Regions from separate parts of the Homo sapiens genome. Here all the other regions are linked to region 1. Evidence: promoter capture Hi-C in human tissues and cell types (Jung and others, 2019). All regions are on one chromosome and are shown on one strand. The core of a region is centred on a gene start or on the middle of the fragment in contact, and the rest is flanking DNA. Distances in the headings are between cores, read along the strand shown. Region 1 holds the start of RBX1 (ring-box 1). Region 2 overlaps MRTFA (myocardin related transcription factor A). Region 3 holds the start of ZC3H7B (zinc finger CCCH-type containing 7B). Region 4 overlaps MRTFA (myocardin related transcription factor A). Region 5 overlaps MRTFA (myocardin related transcription factor A). Region 6 overlaps MRTFA (myocardin related transcription factor A). Region 7 overlaps RANGAP1 (Ran GTPase activating protein 1).

Region 1 (2,700 bases), core at 28-2,527:
TCCTGTGATCCCAGCACTTTGGGAGGCCGAAGTGGGAGGATCACTTGGGCCCAGGAGTTCGAGACCAGCCTAGGCAACATAGTGAGACCTTGTCTCTATTTTTTAAAAAAATTAAAAAAGAAAAAAAAAAAAAGCGGCTCTAGCACTTTGGGAGGCCGAGGCAGGCGGATCACCTGAGGTCAGGAGTTCGGGACCAGCCTGGCTAACGTGGTGAAACCCCGTTTCTACTAAAAATACAAAAAATTAGCCGGGCGTGGTGGCGGGCGCCTGTAATCTCAGCTACTCGGGAGGCTGAGGCAGGAGAATCGCTTGAATCCTGGAGGCGGAGGTTGCAGTGGGCCGAAATCGCGCCATTACACTCCAGCCTGGGCAACAAGAGTTAAAAAAGAATGCCTCACAAAAATTCAAGAAATACAGCGACTGCAGATGGGTCGGTTTCACTACAGCACAAGCAGCGGAAAAAGGACACAGATCGGGGAGAAATCACCCTACAAAGATGACAACTGAGGAATGCGGAGTGGGGACTGACACACGTTACGGTGAAACCGTGCACCACGACCAAAGGCGGTCCTAGGACTGCGACTATGTGGGCGCAGAGGCCACCCCCCAGGCTTGGCGGGCGAGTAAAGGCAGGGCTGGGGGCCTGCTCAGTGTGGCCTTAGGGAGGAACTTCGGGGGTCTCCTCTCTCCCCATCGAATCCCTGAGCAGTTCCCGAACAGAAATCGGAGACCAGACGGTGCCTGGGCCCCAGCCCTCCCACGGGGACTGCACCTTGGGCCTGGCTCGGAAGCGGGTCAGAGTCTGCGAAAGACCAGCGAGGACTCTTGGGTTTCGGGGCAGGCCGCGGGCGCCCACCCACGCCAGCACCGGGAGCCGCGCGGCGACTCGGCGAGCCCGGCAGGCAGGACAGGACTGCGGCGCAGGTCTGGCTCAGGCGGAGGAAGCAGCCGCCGCCCCAGCTGACGGAGTGCGGCCGGGGGCTTCCCAGAGGAGGCGGCGACGTCGAGCCCTTTCGAACGTTTCCACCCGGCTAGCTCACGTAGCCTCGGCCCCGCCCGGCCCCGCCCGGCCCCGCCCCACCCACTCCGGCCACCGCCCCCTCCCCGGCCTACAGTTCGCGGGTGGGGCGACCTGCGACAGCCCCTTTAAGAGGCGTGGTCACGTGCTCCGCCCCCACCTCCGCCTCGCGCGCCAGTAAGGGGTGGGGTGCGGGAGGAGGTGCCGGGGAGGTGGGGGGAGCGAAGTGTGCGCTGCTGCGCAGGCGCGGTGGTCGGACGACAGACCGTGTGTTTCCAAAATGGCGGCAGCGATGGATGTGGATACCCCGAGCGGCACCAACAGCGGCGCGGGCAAGAAGCGCTTTGAAGTGAAAAAGGTTGGGTCTCGCCAGCGCCTTCCTCAGGGAAGCTAGAGAGGCGCGGATCTGGCTGGCAGGCCCGAGGATGGTCGAGGCGCGGAGTAAAGGGTTTCATTTCAGGGCGTTCCTGGGACCGGGTACCACGAAAGGAAGCCGGGGGGCGGGTCTTAGAGTTGATCGGCGTGACGGCGGCCCACTGTTGGGGGAAGTGTTGGTTTCGCTGTGAGGCTAAGGGGCCAATCACAGAGCTGCTTATTGAGATACGCGGGGTTGCGACTTGGCGGCGGGAGCCAAGCGCTTGAGCTGTCACTGGAGTGGTTGAGAGGTGGGGGAAGGACAGGGTAGGGTGGGGTGGGGTGGGTGGAATGGGGAGTCGAAGCGAATGCGGCGGTGGAGGATGGGGCAGTGCGGCGAGAGCCTGGAACCTGAGGTCCTACCGCATTAGAGGCCTCTGAGGACCCCCCTTGGTGATCTTGCTCCGCCCCTTTTTGAAGCTTGGGGTCCTCTCACTTGGAGGGGTCCTCTCACTTGGAGGGATCCTCGCTGAACCGAGGCCTCACACTGCCTGGTTAGAGTCTGGAGTGTAATGCTTGGCTCTTCTGAGACGTCTGTTGGCTTTTCACACAACCACCCCACTCTTGGGTTCTCTGTCACGTCCAGAATCTCCCCCTTCCAAAATAATAATAAAAAGCATGGTGGAACTTGTTAAGAAAATCCGAGCCCAAATCCTGTGGCAGTTAGGGAGGGTTGAGTACTAGTCGCGAACGACTTGGTAAGCGTGGGAAAGCAAAAATGGAACGTGTCTTTTTGCATGAAATGCCTTTTAGTGGTTTGCCACAGTTTGGGAGAACAGTATCGATTCTCACCTAACATGAAAGCTGTTCAAAATGGAGATTCTAAAATAGGGAAGATATTCCTAGAACATCTGGCTAAACACTGACAATATCCCCCGTCCTAGTGCTTTTTGGTGTCTCATTGTGGCCACTGCTGCTCAGTTACAGCCAGCAGCCATATTGAAAAATAATAGAAGTAGGGGCTTTTCCTCCACCTTGAAGCTGTGATGTGAAAAGTGGTAAAGAAGTTACTAGGCACTGAGAATGGGGTTTGAAAGCGAAGAAGGTTTGGGAGTATTTGTAATTGAGGAAGCCAGAGTTGAATGAATGAAATTCTGTTAAACTCTTACTGGAATTATTATCTTAATAGAAGAGTCTAAACATATAAAAGTTGAGAACATCAGTTTATTTTATGGTAAGAATCAAAATTCTAGTGAATTGTAGAATTTGTTATGAAGTAATCTAAGATTTAAGTGATGACCTTGTTCTGTGTACTGACACGGGTATTT
Region 2 (2,700 bases), core at 11-2,510, 320 kb before region 1:
GAGCTATAACATCTTGATTACTACTACAAAGAGTTCTCACTATAACTGACATTTTCGCTAACTATGCAAAAGACACTGAACACGAAAAGACATTTACTAGAGGCAAAGTTAGGAACTTCATATACATCATGGTAGGAAGCCAGAATTATTTAATTCAAAAACAGATCTGGATTCAAATCCTGGCCAGGCACAGCGGCTCATGCCTGTCATCTCAACAGTTTAGGAGGTCAAAGCGTGAGGGCAAGAGTTCAAGATCAGCCTGGGGAACACTGTGACACCCCGCCTGCACAAAAAAATTTAGCCGGGCATGATGGCACACGCCTATAGTCCTAGTTATGCAGGAGAACTGCTTCAGCAGTTTGAGGTTACAGGAGTTTGAGGACACAGTGAGCTATGACCCTGCCACTACACTCATGTCTGGAAGACAAAGCAAGACTCTGTCTAAAAAAAACAAAAAAGCAAAACAACAACAAAAATCCTGTTATCTAGAAGTTCCTCTAGAAGCTTCTCTTTGCTCATCTGCAAAATGCTGCTACTACCACTTATTTCAGAGTTCATATGAGGATTAATAAGGTAGCACAATGTCTACTATAAAGTAGATGCCCCTATTACTTCCCTCTTTACATTTCTTCATAATCCTTATAACGACCTCATGTTGTAAGGATTATTAACTCTAGTTTACAGATGAAGAAGCTGAATCACAGGAAGGTTAAGGAGTAAGCCTACAGTCACATACCTGGTAACTGTCAGTACCCAGATCTGCTGTGCCCTAAAACTTGACATGGACATGTTACCTCACTGGATATTTTACTCTGTCATATTATGAAGTTCAGAACTTTGTTTGAATTATGCCCATTATGCTTTAAATTTTAATACAAGAACAATTATTTTCAAAAACCAGAATCACCCATAATTTCCACTCATAATTTTAGAGGACAAAGACCTGTAAATAGCCTACCTATCTAGAAATTCAGTAACAGAGGACACACTCCAGATCTCAAAATGAACTAGCCAAATTACTCATTACAAGCTCTCATTTACACAGAGAATGATTTCTAAATGCATATCAATAAGAATGAGTGGGGAGCAAATGAACCAAACATACCACAGAAGTAAAAATGTGGAAGTAAAAAAAAAAAAAGACATTTTCACAACGCTCTTTCTTCCAAGGATTCTACAGATCTTCTATTACTGCTATATGAGCCGGCCTTAAATACTGTGTGAGGAACTGGCCTGGGCTCAGCCCCTGGACTGTTGTGGAACTCAAATCATTTAATTTCACAGTGCCTCCTCCCACTAAACAATGAGAGAACTGGACTTGAGTCATGAACCACAGAACTGAAGGCAACTTGAGCAATTAGTTCCACCCAATGCACCCTGACAGGTCACCCAATTTCTGCTTTAACACCTGCAGTGACACAGAGTGTAATTATCTTCTCTCCTCATACATGTGATATGGATTCAGTATTTTTAAGAATTTTGGCCAGGCACGGTGGCTCACACCTGTAATCCCAACACTTCGGGAGGCCAAGGCAGGAGGATTGCTGTGGCCAGGAATTTGAGACTAGTCTAGGCAATATAGCAAGACTCTCTTCTCTTCTCTACAAAAAAAATTTTTTAAATTAGCCAAGCAGAGGCTGGGCGCGGTGGCTCACATGTGTAATCCCAGCACTTTGGGAGGCCGAGGCGGGCGGATCACTTGAAGTCAGGAGTTTGAGACCAGCCTGTCCAATATGGTGAAACCCCGTCTCTACCAAAAATACAAAAAAATTAGCCGGGCATGGTGGCACATGCCTGTAGTCCCAGCTACCTGGGAGGCTGAGGCAGGAGAATGGCTTGAACCCGGGAGACGGAGGTTGCAGTGAGCCAAGATCGAACCACTGCACTCCAGCCTGGTCAACAGAGCAAGACTCCGTCTCAAAACATAATTAAAAAAAAAAAAATTACCCAAGCAGGCCAGGCACAGTGGCTCACGCTGTAATCCCAATACTTTGGGAGGCCGAGGCGGATGGATCGCCTGAGGTCAGGAGTTCGAGATCAGCCTGGCCAACATAGTGAAACTCCGTCCCTACTAAAAAAAATATATACATATACAAAAAATTAGCTGGGCGTGGTGGTGGGTGCCTATAATCCCAGCTACTCGGGAGGCTAAGGCAGGAGAATTGCTTGAACCCAGGATGCGGAGCTTGCAGTGAGCCGAGATCCCGCCACTGCACTCCAGCCTGGGTGACAGAGCAAGATTCCATCTCAAAAAAAAAAAAAAAAAAAAAAAAATTAGCCAAGCATGGTGGTACATGCTGTTGTCCTAGCTACTCAGGAGGCAGAGGCAGAAGGATCACTTAAGACAAGGAGTTTTGAGGTTGCAGTGAGCTATGATCCCACCATATGCTTCACAAGAGCTTAGAGGTGGAACTAGGGCCCACACTAATACCTAGAATGAGAACCTGTGTGGCTGAGTTTGAGGGACAAGGTTAATCTGGAGGGCATTTAAAAGGTACAGGACTGGCCAAGCACGGTGGCTCATGCTTATCATCCTAGCGCTTTGGGAGGCCAAGGCAGGCGGATCACCTGAGGTCAGGAGTTTGAGACCAGCCTGGCCAACATATAGTGAAACCCTGCCTCTACTAAAAAATACAAAAATTAGCTGGGCATGGTGGCACATACCTGTAATCCCAGCTACTTGGGAAGCTGAGGCAGGAG
Region 3 (2,700 bases), core at 29-2,528, 350 kb after region 1:
GCAACCTGGGGTGGTGGAATCACCAGACCATTTGCCATCTAGTTCACTTGAGGCAAAATGCAGCAATCCAACTGGCCTCAGCATCCTCATCGATGAAATGAGAGTGATAATAACCATGGTGGTAAATGTGATAAGTTGTCAAGGGTGTTTCATTGTAAATTGCCTAGGGGGTATTGGGAACTCACACACACACACACACACACACACACACACACACACACACACACACACACATATATTTCTGGAGACAGTTTTGCTCTTGTTGCCCAGGCTGGAGTGCAATGGCATGATCTTGGCTCACTGCAACCTCCACCTCTGGGGTTCAAGTGATTCTCCTGCCTCAGCCTCCTGAGTAGCTGGGATTACAGGCACCCACCACCACGCCTGGCTAATTTTTGTATTTTTGTAGAGATGGGGTTTCACCACGTTGGCTAGTCTGGTCTTGAACTCCTGACCTCAGGTGATCCACCCGTCTTGGCCTCCCAAAGTGCTGAGATTACAGGCGTGAGCCACTGCACCCAGCCCTGATTGTCAATATCTAATCAGGTTCCTCATTTTCCACCATTCCCCAGGTGATGTCTGATCACCTTGCCCTGCCTTCAGCAAGAATCTTGTTAGATGGGTTTAAGCGAGAATCCTCTCATCTCTGATGCAGTTTCCTATGCACTGGCGCTCAATCAGTGGATCCTTTCTCCTTCCTCATAAATTCCCAGTTGCCCATGCTGATTTCTGAATTGAGCCCAAATACTCTCCCTGACCGCAAAACCCACTGCAGTGGTCCCTACACCCATCATGATGCCAATAAAGTCGGCCTTGTAGTCTTTAACAAGTGTCATTCAATATTTTTTTTAACATCCTATACATAAAACTCCAGCCAAGTGAGGTCCTGATTCTTCTATGTGTCTCCGGTTCCCATCTATGAGAAGGGCACAACGCAACCAGGGTTTTGGGCAGCCTTCCATGAAAGCACCTGGAAGCCGGAGAAGGGGGGCGGGGGGACTTTTGACACAGATGGGGAAGGGCGGAGGCGCTGGGTTTGAGCAGCATCAGCCCAGAAATGCAGAACTGCCAAAAGAAACCCCCCTAAAAGGCAGGACACTTTTAAAGAAAATAAAGGTGAATTCCAGGCATGAGCTTTCGACGGGGAATGGGGCTTCCCCGACTCGCCCCCACGCCCCCCGCCCTTCTCCCCAGGTGCGCAGCCCGCGCCGCCCACCCCGGGCGCGGCGAGGCGACGGGAGCCGAGCTCTCTAGGACCCGAGGAGGAAGAGCTGCAGGGAGACAGTGCCTCCAGCGGGTGCTGCCGCGAGCGGCCAGCCGAGGGGCTGGAAATGAAAGTAAAGCGCTCCAGAGCCACATGGACGGAGCTGCCGGGGCGGCGGCGCCGGGAGCAGGATGCGGCCGCCCGTAATTAAATAGCATTTACTCTTATTATTACTAATAATAATAACGTAATCATACCTCTAGTCATAGCATACCATTTATCGGGCTCGGCGCAGGCCCGCGGGGAGCGCAGCCCGGCGGAGGTGAGTGCTTGGCGCGGCCCGAGCCCCGCGGGGCAGAGGCCGGGGACACTGCGTCCGGAGCCGCCCGCGCGCGAGGGTTCGGGGACGCCCGGGCCGGGCAGGGCTGGGGAAGAGGCGAAGAGAGCCCTTTCCAGGCCGGGGCCGCGCGCCGGGCCACCTGGAAAGTGGGATTTTGCAAAAAATAAATCGTCTCTAAAACCCCATTTGCTCCTTTTTGGGGATCCCGGTCCCCGTGCCCTGCCCCAAAGTTTAAAAGTTACCGTGTGGCCGGGGGCACCTGGCGCTGGGGAGACTTGGCCGCCCCTGCAGCCCCCAGGAGGTGTCTTGAAATTTTCGTGGGGCCTCTCTCTTCGGCGTCCGGAGCTTCTGGGGTGTCCAGATGCTTTGCCGACCCCGCGCAGGGGGTCTCGGGGGCTGGCAGGGGCGTCGCTGGCAGGGCCCCCCTTCCTTTTGTGTTGTCCTTGGCCCCGCAGCACCCGGAGTTGGAGGGGCCGCGGCGAGGGCCGGGGAGCGGGGCCGCCCGACGGGCCGCCCCTTTCGGCTGCGGCGGCCACGCGAGCCCGGGGATCCGGGGCCTGCAGCCGGGCCCGCGGGAAGGGGGCGGCAGGAAAGGGGGGCGCGGTCTGGGCCTGCTGGGCAGGGGGGCGTTTCCGGTCGCAGGATCAGTCTCTGGACTTCGAGGCCTGTGGGAGGCCCGCGGCCGTCCAGGGAGTGCTAGGGGGCTGCGGACCCCGGCTCTGGCGCCTGGGGACGGGGGCGCCCTGACGGGGCTGGGGGCCTGGGAGCCGCCGACTCCGGCCTCATACCCCCATCCTGCCCGCTGCGAACCTCAGGGCCCCCCTCCGGGTTTGCTCCCTCCTCCTTTCCCCTCCTTTCTCCTCAACTCTGTCTGTTTTAGGCGTTTATAAGGCGCCTGGTTGGGGGGACTTTCACAGACAAAGCCGTCTTCCCAGGGGGGAAAATAATCATATAAAAACAGCTCACTCTGATAGAACCTGATGGCTGTATTGCCAACAGGGCATTGACGGGGAAGACTAGGGGGCTAGGGCCCTGCGTGGGGAGTCTGGGGGCTCTAAAAGGGGGCTGGGCCTGAGTGGGGAGCTGGTGATCAGCGGTTTTATTTCTCGGGTTGCTAGCTTTGGCATCAGACTTTGAACCCCAACTTCTTGCCATA
Region 4 (2,700 bases), core at 194-2,693, 470 kb before region 1:
GGTGATTAAAAATTAGACCATATGGGTTGGGTTATAGATAGATAGATAATTAGATAGACAAACAATCTGAAGCTTATTCAAATGTTTATGTATCAAGTTTTCTATGGATAAAGAAAAAAAAAACAGTAAATTCTCACTCTTCAGTCCTAAATGATGTAAAATTTTAGCTATTTGACTCAAAAAGATAAAAATTTAAAAATAAAATTTGATAAAGTCTGCAGCAAAATTTGTCTTCTCTGTGGAAGAAAGAAATCCATAAAATTAAACTTCATGTAGTGTCTGAGCGTAAAAGCTACAAATCAGCTAAACTTGTTGGAATGGGTTAAAATTCTCAAGATCAAACACATAAAGGAGAAGCCAGATCATTATAATACATTAGGAGCCCATTTAACTACTGTAGGATTTTCCCACTCCACATCCCCCAGGTTTAGTAAAGACTTTTCAAAAGCAAAGGTAGGTGTAACTGTAGAAGAGTTCATGTTATAAGTACCGCAACTTTGTATTTCCTGAAGTCTGTGTGGTTGAATTTGCAAATGGAACATTTCACTACTGCAGGTTTTGCACAAAATTTTACGAAACAAACCTGCATTAAGTTAAAGCAGAACTTAAATAAATGCCTTTTCTGGATACTTCAGAAACAATTTCCATATATTTCCTATTACAGAATTCTTTTAATTTAGATACTCCTTCAACATACATGAGTAGAAGGGAAATTCCAGCTCAAAATCTAAAAGTAGAGGCGGGTGCGGTGGCTCACACCTGTAATCCCAGCACTTTAGGAGGCCGACGCAGGCGGATCACGAGGTCAGGAGATCGAGACCATCCTGGCCAACATGGTGAAACCCCGTCTCTACTAAAAATACAAAGATTAGCTGGGCATGGTGGCACGTGCCTGTAAATCCCAGCTACTCAGGAGGCTGAGGCAGGAGAATCGCTTGCATCTGGGAGTAGGAGGTTGCAGTGAGAGGAGATTGCGCCACTGCACTCCAGCCTGGCAACATAGTGAGACTCCGTCTCAAAAAAAAAAAAAAAATCTAAAAGAATGCAAAGTGATCAAATAATTCCTCCATACCACATACCTCAATTTTCTAGCATAATTCTGAGTGATGCAGAGTGCCACACCTATCAGCAGAATGCTTATTTTAAAAATGTCCCTGATACTACCATGTACTTTTCCTCCTCCTGATTTTCAAATCATCCCAGTATTAACATCCATCCCTAAGGAATCTCACTAGTAGTTTCAGAAAAATGAATTTGATTTGTTTTACACACTGTGGGACAGACAACAAACAAGACCCCTTTTCCTCTGCCTCTTCGATGCTTCTCCTGGGCATGAAAACAGCCTGAACTGTGGCAACAGCTGGGGATCATTAAACTGACAGAAATAGCTTAGGAGACTCCAATGGTGTGTGAAGGCGGGAGGAGAGCCTGAGTATCAGATTAAAAAAAATCAAAAGGGCAAAAGGAAAGGGGGGCAGGGCAGGGAAGCCTAAGGAGTGTATCACACCTAAATTTCCTTTACCACAGCCAAGAAGATGCAGTGAAGCAAATGACAGGATACATGAATGCGGCCTAAATTGCTTAGCCTCCTACCTATTCCTAGATGGAAGGTTTAGTCAAACCTAAAAATGTGGGTCTCAATGAAGACATGGTGGGGAAGAGTAGGGAGGAGAACTGCGGAATCTCAAAGGCTAACTATGGGTCTGGAAGAATCACTTAGAGGAGGTTGCAATGATGGTAAAAATAAACTCTAAGATGGAGGAGGAGCAAGGGCTGTGAGAATACATCCCAAGCCCTAAGTGGACTCAGAGATTAACGTAGTCCTAAGGCATCTCCCTCAACTGGGAAGGACCAAATGCTACATGAAATGCATGTTCTTGTTCTTGCTAGAGCACAGCCATGCCTCCCCAGTGGTAGCTTTTCAACCTGGCAGGCCTTCGAAGGTCGGTGCAGGAATGAGCCATCTGCCTGGCCCACTGCCCGAGTGTGTTCAGCACATACCTGAATGCCCTAGAGTAGCTTTATTCAGATCACCCCAAGGGAGTGGGCTTGCAGATCCCGACTTACGCCTTTAAATCTGGTTAGTCCCAGGATCCTGGTGTACCTTCTTCATCCCCACACTTGTTAGGCTGTCTATTCAATATTATCATCAAGGCTTCTCCCACCAAGGCGTTTTCTTTATAACTAATCTTATAGGACTGCAGTTTCAGATTGTTCCCCACCTGCAAGCCCGAACAGGAAATGATTCGATTACGGATATTAAGACTGCAACTTTCTTTGGCAAGAGTGTTTTGTAACTATGAGATTGCACCAAGCTCGGTTGAACATTTTATTCAATGAATCTAATTACTTACTAAAGAAAGTTCCAGGCTGGTGACTGGTCTCAACAAAAAGCTACCACTATACTACCTTCTTCTTGAATAGCTTGCTTCTTTTCTTTATTGTTTTTTTCTTCCTTCCACTCTAGGAGGAAAATTTGCTTCTTTTCTAACCACAAATCTGGCAGGAAAATATGCTCATGCATATTTCCATACTAAGACATTTTTGTCTAAACAACTGTATTTGAATCTGGCTTTTTATAAGAAGTCCAAAAACCTTACAACGGTTGGCTCATTACGAACACTTTAAGTTCGTATTAAGAAGGGTACAGGGAGCCGGGTGCAGTGTGGCTCACGCCTCTAATCCTAGCACTTTGGGAGG
Region 5 (2,700 bases), core at 4-2,503, 430 kb before region 1:
TGGCCTTCAGCAACACAGAGGGGTAGCACAGGAGTTCCAAAGATCAGTAGTTTGAAAATCAGGTCACAGGGAGTCCACGCTATATGATCTTGGGTAAGTCACTTAACATTCTTAGCCCCCCGTCTGTTCACCTGTAAAACCAAGGTTTGTTATCAGGTCATGTCTAAGATCCTTCCCAGTTAAACATTCTAGAATGCCAAAAATAAGCCTATTTGTTCTTTCTTTGAAAAATGAAGAAAAATGGCAAAAAAAAAAAAAAGTTGTCAAATTGTGAACGTTTATCTAACACAGAGAACTATACCAGGAGCAGGTTTTCTTTTTTGTTTCCTGTTTTACCCTATTCTTCCATACTAATTAGACATCATATAAATCCCACATATAAATCCAACACATCTCATAGCATCTTGGGAAATAAAAATAAAATATCTTTTGGAACTGAACTTCTCAACTTTAATATGCATGTGACAATCTTTTTTTTGAGATAGGGTCTCACTTTGTGGCCCAGCTGGAATACCGTGGTGCAAACACGGTTCACTGCAGCCTTGACCTCCCAAATTCAAGTGAGCCTCCCACTTCAGCCCCCTAAGTATCTGGGACTACAGGTGTGTATCACCATGCCTGCCTAATTTTTGCATTTTTTGTAGAGATGAGGTTTCACCATGTTGCCTAGGCTGGTCTCAAACTTCTGACATCAAGCAATCTGCCCACCCTGGCCTCCCAAAGTGTTGGGATTACAGCTGTGAGCCACTGCACCCGGCAAATAATCTTTTTAAAACAGATTGTGATTCCGCAGGTCTGAGGTGGCGTCTGAGATTCTGCATTCCTAATAGGCTTCCAGGTGATACAAAGGCTGCCAGACCTTGGAACATACTTTGAGTAGCAAGGTATTAGAAGAATACGGACATAGTATCTGTTTGAGTAACCTAATTAATGTTGATACCTAAGTTTTCAGTACTTTACATAACCAAATAAATTAGTCTTATGGCACTGATTTGAGGAATATAATCTTATCGATTCCCAAGAGAATATACTAAGAAAACAGTTCAAAAAATCAAGTTTAATTAATATTTTAGTTCCTCAAGATCCTATTTGCAAGGAAAAACAGAAAAACAGAAAATCAGAAAGATACAGCATCATGAATTGTTAAGGACAATTTTCACACCCTATAGTCAATGAGCAAAATATATTGCAGAAATGCACTTTCAAAAAATTAAAACAGGCTGGGCAACATAGTGAAAACCTGTCTCTCATTAAAAAAAATTTTTTTAGCTGGGCCTAGTGATGTGCACTTGCAGTCCCAGCTACTCAGGAATCTGTGGTGGGAGGACCACCTGAGCCTGGGGAGGTCCAGCCTGCAATGAGCTGTGATTATGCCACTGCACTCCACCCTGGGCAGCAGAGTGAGACCCTGGCTCAAAAATAAAAGCTACACAAAAAAATAATTAAAACATTGTATACTAACACCACCATTTTATGCCTACAACAAATCAGATTATTCTTACCCAACAAAAGCAAACAAAAAATTTAACGTGTTGTTTTTTGACAGAAAACTTCTGAGAGGTTCAGCAAATTGAGAGTAAATGAGTGTACACAGGAAGGAGCCACAGCTCTGCCAAGAACATGGCCTAACACAAACACTGCAAAGATAAATTTCAATAAGTCTTACAAAATAGAAACAAAGGCAAAAATGTAAAAGAGATTTATACAAACTCAACTGGTCAGAGGGAACAGTTTAATGAGATGGAGTGCCTCCTTATCATGCAGTATTTGGTCAGTGGAGGGAGCACTTTGACTGCAGAGGTTCCAAATTAACAGCTCTATCTCCTAATCATTATGCTTCCATCCATCTTCTTCCTCTTTTAACTGTACCTACCTGTGTATGTGCATACACACAATTTAACATAAGCTTTATTTATTTTTGTGCGTGTGCGTGTGTATGTTTTTGAGACAGAGTTTTGCTCTTGTCACCCATGCTGGAGTGCAATGTCGCAATCTCGGCTCACTGCAACCTCCACCTCCCAGGTTCAAGCAATTCTCCTGCCTCGGCCTCCCAAGTAGCTGGGATTACAAGCATGGGCCACCACACCCAGCTAATTTTTTTGTATTTTTAGTAGAGATGGGGTTTCGCCATACTGGCCAGGCTGGTCTTAAACTCCTGGCCTCAAGTGATCCGCCCGCCCCAGCCTCCCAAAATGCTGGGATTACAGGGGTGAGTCACTGTGCCCAGCCAACATAAGCTTTATTGGAATACAAAAGAAATGTATGCTCATCATAGAAAATCAGAAAGATACAGGAAAACCCAAAAGATGGAAAAAATATAATGTCCCCTATGAAATCTCACTACTCAGAGAAAGTTATTCATATTCTGGTGTATAGCCTCAAAGCCACTTTTCTAGAATTATAGAGATAAGTGGTAAACATTATTCCACATTTTAAAAATTATTTTAAAAAATTTTTTGTAAAGATGGAATCTTGCTATGTTGCCCAGGCTGGTCTTGAACTCCTGGGTTAGACAGGAAGCTGTCGGGGAGGTTTGCTTGAGCCCGGGAGACAGAGGTTACAGTGAGCCGAGATCCCACCACTGCACTCCAGCAGGGGGCGACAGAGCAAGACCCTGTCTCACAAAAAAATTATAAAAATATAAAAAACCAAAACTACAATGTACACTTATGAAAGAACAACAGTAAGAAAGGGAAATTA
Region 6 (2,700 bases), core at 88-2,587, 480 kb before region 1:
GTTTCTAAAGCCCAGTGTAAGATGAACTATTAGAAAATTATTAAATGTGACAAATTAATTTTATTTCAGAGAATAAGGGAACAATGCAATTCAGTAAGTCTGAACACTTCAAAGAAACAATAACATAAGCAATGGCTATTAATCCAAGAATAATTTTGAAATATTAACCACTAGCCTTCTTAAGTAAACCATATATGAATAGGGCCATAGGGATATTACATAAACTTCTTGATTGAAAAACTTCTTGCTTCATGAACGCAAAAATTTAAATTTATGAAAGCTAACACATTTAATAAATTTGATTCAAGTTTTCTGTGGAGATTACAGTAAAGGCATATTCAGCTTATATATACATACACATATACACAACCGTGTATATATTATGCATGTATATATATATATATATTTATACACACACATATACAGCTCCAGTACAAAGACGAAAGCTTATCTAATAAACCTTTTCCATCTCTAAAACTGAATGAAATTAAAGTTCAGTTATCTGAAAATTCCATCTTGTCCCTCCCAGGAGTTAACTTTGAACTCTGTGCTTATCTGACATCTGACAAAGTTCCCCACTCAAATAACAGAATTATCCTGTATCAGTATCATCTTGGGTACTGCAATAACCTGATTTAGGTATGTGTTGTTTTATGCACTGCATAACCTTCAATGGTTACAAAGAGGGGGAAAAAAGACTGAAGCAGTAAACTCAGAATTATGGCAGTCAACCTATAATTCATTTTGTTTTATAATTTATCTGCTTTATGTTTATCTGTGTAGACTAAAAATGATCCATCGTCTAAGACTTCCAACTACAAAGAAACAGCTGTTTATATGGAGTTTTTGTTTCCTTGGTCTATTAATTCCTCTTAATTCTAAGCATTCTAAACAAAATGACTTTACATTTCCAGACCTTAGGATTATTCATTTTAGAAGCAATTATTTAATAACCTACTTTCAGTAAATACCACAGAGCCATATGTTCTGTGTTCACTGCCAAAGTTACCAAAATCAGGAATAAATTTCAGAGGCCATAAATTTAATACACATCCACTCTCACCGAGAAATATCTGAAACAAATGATGATTTTTCACAGACAGTATAAGCCTATGGAGATTTAGGAGAGTAGGAATTTTGACATCTTTCTATGTCATTGTATATCACTACTTAGATTTGCTCATCATTCCCCAAGCCAATAAAGACTCAACAAAAATATTTATTTGTATACAAGCATAAGTCTTTAATCCTTTACTGTTACTGATTTCCACAAATTTAATATATCATGTTTCTAAATGGGCCTGTGTGAACAACCTATACATAGATGAACAGATGTCTTTAGAGCTGATGGGTGGTGAATCAACTGAGTTGCCTGCCAGAAAAGAATGGAATAAAAAGAAAAGAAACCCAACCATAAAGTGAAAAACCCTAGGTTCTCCACTCTCCATGGAAATAATCAAGTTTTTTACCTGCCTCAAACAAAGGCATCAATTGCTATTTGAATAACTAGCTACTTTGGGGGTGAGGGAAAAGCCAAGGAGTGACCTTAATATATCTCTGCCCTGTAAGACCATGGAAGGATGTTGATAGGATTCGAGGGGTAATACCCAAGAAATGAACACATCAAACAGCTGGGTCAATCAAGACTGGAACAAGAAAGGAGTAAGAAGTGGAGTTCTCAAGCCTAGCTCTTCCACCGGTCATTTGTCCTGGATTTCACTGGAAAGGAAACATGCAGTTGATAGCTGTTCCTACCTTATACATGTATTGATTCCACCAAGACTTCTACAATCAGAAGATAAAGTATAAATTATGAGGAAGTAGAAAAGAATAGGAAGGTGGGGTTAGTATGGGAAGAACAGGACAGTAAAAAAACAAGACCCCTCCCTCCACATAATCTTTTGCCCAGCTAAGTCCTCTCAAGGAAGATTCTCAGACTGTAGGGACATTTCATTAACTGAGCTGTAACTCAGGAATACTGACAAGTCTTTTTCTCATGAAACTTCTAATCAAATGACAATAAACTTGGCCACCACTTTTCAGAATATTTATGTTAGAAAAGGCTCCAAAACAAACTTGTTGATGAGTAAAGGAAATGCCCCTGGACTAGAAATTATATGCCAGCCAAAACAGTGCTGCATTTGAAAATTAATGAGGTGTATATGCTTGAGGAGACCAAAATGCAGACAAGCCTTCTCAAAAATCTTTTCTCTTCCCCCACTCAGATATTTGGCTTCCAACTCTGGAGGCTGTCATACTTCAGGGGGGAAACTGCTATCCAGAAACAATCAACTGAAAGACTGGTCTGGTTGGAGCCAAGTTTGAATGCATCAGTTTTCATGAGAATTAACAATGACCTTCACACTAAAAACATTAAAATAGCCCCAGTATACTAGAAAGTAAATTAATAGATGTCATTTCTGGCATTTGTAAGGTACAACTAATACTAGAGCATTTCTACATTTTAATAAATTGCATGGTGCTTATTTAACTAACTTTGAATAAGGAGTATTTGAGTTTATCTCCTCTAAAAATCGCAATCTACCTCACTCTCAACAATAGACAGAACAACTAGGTAGAAATTAGTAAGGATATTGAAACAGTTCAAATGTGTGCCCCCTCCAAACCTCATGCTGAGATATGATCCCCAATGTTGGAGGCGGGGCCTAGTGGGAAGTGTCTGGGTCATGGCGGCAGATG
Region 7 (2,700 bases), core at 199-2,698, 310 kb after region 1:
GCATGGCACAGAAACCACACTAAACACACTGCCCAGAAGAAAAAGATTCCAAAGGACCTGCAGGCCTTGGTTAGACACCCAGACCATGGCGTCTGAGCTCCCAAGAGGCATAGGTCAGCAAGGCCGAGACCCAGAGACCTAATCAAATCAGTGGTCAGGGAGGCACAGAGAACCATCAATCAAACTCCAGGGTAGGCCTGTCTGCCCAGGAGGCCCTCTGGTCCTGGGTCCAAAACTCATTCCCCAACTCACCCCATTACAAGTATAGGACAGGCCAGACAACTCCTGGCCAGTAGGAAAGCTCCCTGAGCCTCAGTTTCCAGGCACTGCTGGGCAGGAGAAGGGAAGTAATGGAAGGAAAACCGAAGCATTTTGCTAGAATAGAGTCTCTGGCTCTCCCAGCGTATGCCACTCACTCTAGGTTGGGCCACGCCTGCTTTCTGTGCTGACGCAAACGTTTTTATATGTTTCTGTTTGTTTGTTTGTTTGTTTGTTTTTTTGAGACGGAGTTTTGCTCTTGTTGCCCAGGCTGGAGTGCAGTGGCGCCATCTCGGCTCACTGCAACCTCCACCTCCCGGGTTCGAGCAATTCTCCTGCCTCAGCCTCCCGAATAGCTGGGACTACAGGCACCTGCCACCACACCCAGCTAATTTTTGTATTTTTAGTAGAGATGGGGTTTCACCATGTTGGCCAGGCTGGTCTCGAACGCCTGACCTCAGGTGATCTGCCCGACTCGGCCTCCCAAAGTGCTGGGATTACAGGCATGAGCCACTGCACCACCGTGCCCGGCCCATTTTTACATCTTAACACAGGGATAGCTTATTGCCCAAGTGGACTTGGGGGAGGGCTGGCTAAGGCAGGCACAGAGCCTGCCCCTGCTCACCCTCACGTCAGGCCGAGGGACACAGGCACCCTCTGCAGGGGAGGCCACTCCAGCTCCTCAGCCTGGGGCTCCATGGGCCTCACAGCACTAGCTATGTGATCCACTCCACCCCATCTCTCTAAGCCTATGCTGAGTCATGTGGAAAAACTGGGATGGCATCAGCCACCTTTCAGTGTGGGTGGGAAAAGTTAAGGTATTGCATATTCAAATAAGATATCCCCAACTGCTGTTACTTCTGTGTCCCCAGCCCTTTTCTCCCTTTGGTTAGAAAGTGTGTGTAGGGGTTGCAGCCTGGCACTCAGTGTCCTCCAACCCTGGGTCTAAAGGCACTGGGATGGAGTTGGAAGAGAATAATACGGCAGGCCGCCCTTGATGCAGGTTCTGGGAAGCAAAGAAGCTCCACTCTACACTGACCAGCCCAACGTGAAGCTCTACACTGACCTTGCCTGAGGACACCTCCCTGGGCAAGGCCCTGTCTAGGAATAAAGGTGAGCTGTGACGGTGCCCCCCCTGAGCATATGCTCCTCTTTTCAGACTCCCTCTGCCTATGTGCCAGGCTCTACCAGCTGCTCTGCGGGTACAGTGAGTATAGGGATGCCCCAAGCCCTGAGTTTTGCAGAGCCAGCAGGCTGGAGCAGGTATGCAGTGGCACTCCCTCTGCGTTGCCAAGCCAACCCAAGAACTGGGGATGGTTGCTTGGCAACCCCACCCTCATGGACGCCTCTACCCTCCGGCCACAGGCTGTTGCCTTTGAGGCCTTTCTCTTTTGAAAACAACGGCTGACCATCCCAGATGGTGGTGGCCAAGGGCCAGGGCACATATGTCAGACGGATGTGGATGGACCAGGGGACTCTGCGGGGAGGGGGCTGCCACACCCACCTTGCCGCCGCCAATGCCCATGCCACAGTTGTTGAGCTTGAGTTCCTGCAGGGTGAAGCAGGCTGAGCTCTTGAGCAGGGCCTCGAAGCCTTGCACACCGTCGGGCCCGAATGCGTTGTCGCTTAAGTCCAGCTCCACCAGCTGAGCCCCAGCTGTGATGAGTCCTTCCCCTAGTGAGATCTGGGCACAGAGGAAGCTCGTGTCAGTTTCATAGACACCCAGCTTCTGTGCTGGGTGCTGCTTCTGTGCCAGGCCCAGCTCTGCCTTCCAAGGACACCCCGGCTGGTGCAGAACCAACACAGACACAAACCATTTCAGTATTCTTAAGACTGGAAACCCTGCAAAGGGCTCCTAACAGCTGGAGAGTGGGGGATGCGTATGCCTGGAGTGGCCCGGGAAGGCTCCTTGTAAGAGGTGGCATTTGGACTTAGTCTGGATGAGAATCAGCTAGTCAACATGAAAAGACTCCAGGCAGCTGAAAAAACAGGAGCAGAGAGACATAAGCATGAAGCAGCAGGCTGTGAGCCTGGAGGAAAGCTGTGGGTAGGCTCCAGAAGAAGCCGTGGCATGGGCTTTGGGTGGAAGGGAAGTGAGGGGTCAGATCAGGCAAGAGCCTTGAATGCCAGGCCAAGGACTGTGAGCCTCAGCCTGAGAGCAGTGGGCTTTGAGGTGGCTGAGGGATATGGAATTAATATCCCCAGACCTGAGGTGAGCAGATGCACAGAAAGGGGGGCTGGAGTGCCCACCCAGGAGTGTGAGGCAGCGACACTGGCAACAGAGGGGACCTGCCAGCCGGTGTGACAAGTGTGGGAGAGGAGCTGCCTGTTCATGGAGCAGGGGACATGCAGAAGCTGTTGGTTCCCTGTTCGTGCAGGAGGAGGGAGGGAGGAACCACAAATGCCTCCAGGGTTTCTGGTGGTGACTGGCAGATGGAGGTG

What was found. Contacts are between HindIII fragments. The study calls those that stand out against the background at their distance.
Region 2: a fragment that was not itself captured here is called in contact with the fragment with the promoter of RBX1 in region 1 in 3 of the 25 tissues and cell types used here (dorsolateral prefrontal cortex, hippocampus and lymphoblastoid cells).
Region 3: the fragment with the promoter of ZC3H7B here is called in contact with the fragment with the promoter of RBX1 in region 1 in 1 of the 25 tissues and cell types used here (dorsolateral prefrontal cortex).
Region 4: a contact is called between a fragment that was not itself captured here and the fragment with the promoter of RBX1 in region 1, in 1 of the 25 tissues and cell types used here (lymphoblastoid cells).
Region 5: a fragment that was not itself captured here is called in contact with the fragment with the promoter of RBX1 in region 1 in 2 of the 25 tissues and cell types used here (adrenal gland and dorsolateral prefrontal cortex).
Region 6: a fragment that was not itself captured here is called in contact with the fragment with the promoter of RBX1 in region 1 in 2 of the 25 tissues and cell types used here (bladder and liver).
Region 7: a contact is called between a fragment that was not itself captured here and the fragment with the promoter of RBX1 in region 1, in 1 of the 25 tissues and cell types used here (spleen).

The regions. Positions count from the first base shown.
Region 1 is chr22:40,950,101-40,952,800 of GRCh38, forward strand. RBX1 (ring-box 1) reads left to right here and starts at 1,278. Exons shown (of 5, transcript NM_014248.4): 1 at 1,278-1,376. The coding sequence starts at 1,299. RefSeq lists enhancers at 240-830, 1,345-1,554, 2,010-2,598 and a silencer at 715-1,294. The HindIII fragment of the contact is 18,244 bases long and covers 1-2,700 here.
Region 2 is chr22:40,627,527-40,630,226 of GRCh38, forward strand. The region is part of intron 1 of MRTFA (myocardin related transcription factor A); the gene reads right to left. Among named protein-coding and RNA genes, the nearest start is that of MRTFA, 7.8 kb to the right of the region's middle. The HindIII fragment of the contact is 9,289 bases long and covers 1-2,700 here.
Region 3 is chr22:41,300,247-41,302,946 of GRCh38, forward strand. ZC3H7B (zinc finger CCCH-type containing 7B) reads left to right here and starts at 1,279. Exons shown (of 23, transcript NM_017590.6): 1 at 1,279-1,526. It also overlaps a transcript of RANGAP1 not described here. RefSeq lists silencers at 966-1,305, 1,586-1,655 and an enhancer at 1,387-1,888. The HindIII fragment of the contact is 5,663 bases long and covers 1-2,700 here.
Region 4 is chr22:40,484,054-40,486,753 of GRCh38, forward strand. The region is part of intron 3 of MRTFA (myocardin related transcription factor A); the gene reads right to left. Among named protein-coding and RNA genes, the nearest start is that of MRTFA-AS1, 36 kb to the right of the region's middle. The HindIII fragment of the contact is 4,610 bases long and covers 1-2,700 here.
Region 5 is chr22:40,522,881-40,525,580 of GRCh38, forward strand. All of the region lies in intron 3 of MRTFA (myocardin related transcription factor A), which reads right to left. MRTFA-AS1 (MRTFA antisense RNA 1) reads left to right here. Exons shown (of 4, transcript NR_109965.1): 1 at 1-93; 2 at 486-560; 3 at 645-838. Among named protein-coding and RNA genes, the nearest start is that of MRTFA-AS1, 2.4 kb to the left of the region's middle. The HindIII fragment of the contact is 3,575 bases long and covers 1-2,700 here.
Region 6 is chr22:40,466,581-40,469,280 of GRCh38, forward strand. All of the region lies in intron 3 of MRTFA (myocardin related transcription factor A), which reads right to left. Among named protein-coding and RNA genes, the nearest start is that of MRTFA-AS1, 54 kb to the right of the region's middle. The HindIII fragment of the contact is 5,159 bases long and covers 1-2,700 here.
Region 7 is chr22:41,262,902-41,265,601 of GRCh38, forward strand. RANGAP1 (Ran GTPase activating protein 1) reads right to left here. Exons shown (of 16, transcript NM_002883.4): 5 at 1,763-1,942. Among named protein-coding and RNA genes, the nearest start is that of MIR6889, 11 kb to the left of the region's middle. RefSeq lists an enhancer at 1,219-2,094. The HindIII fragment of the contact is 7,310 bases long and covers 1-2,700 here.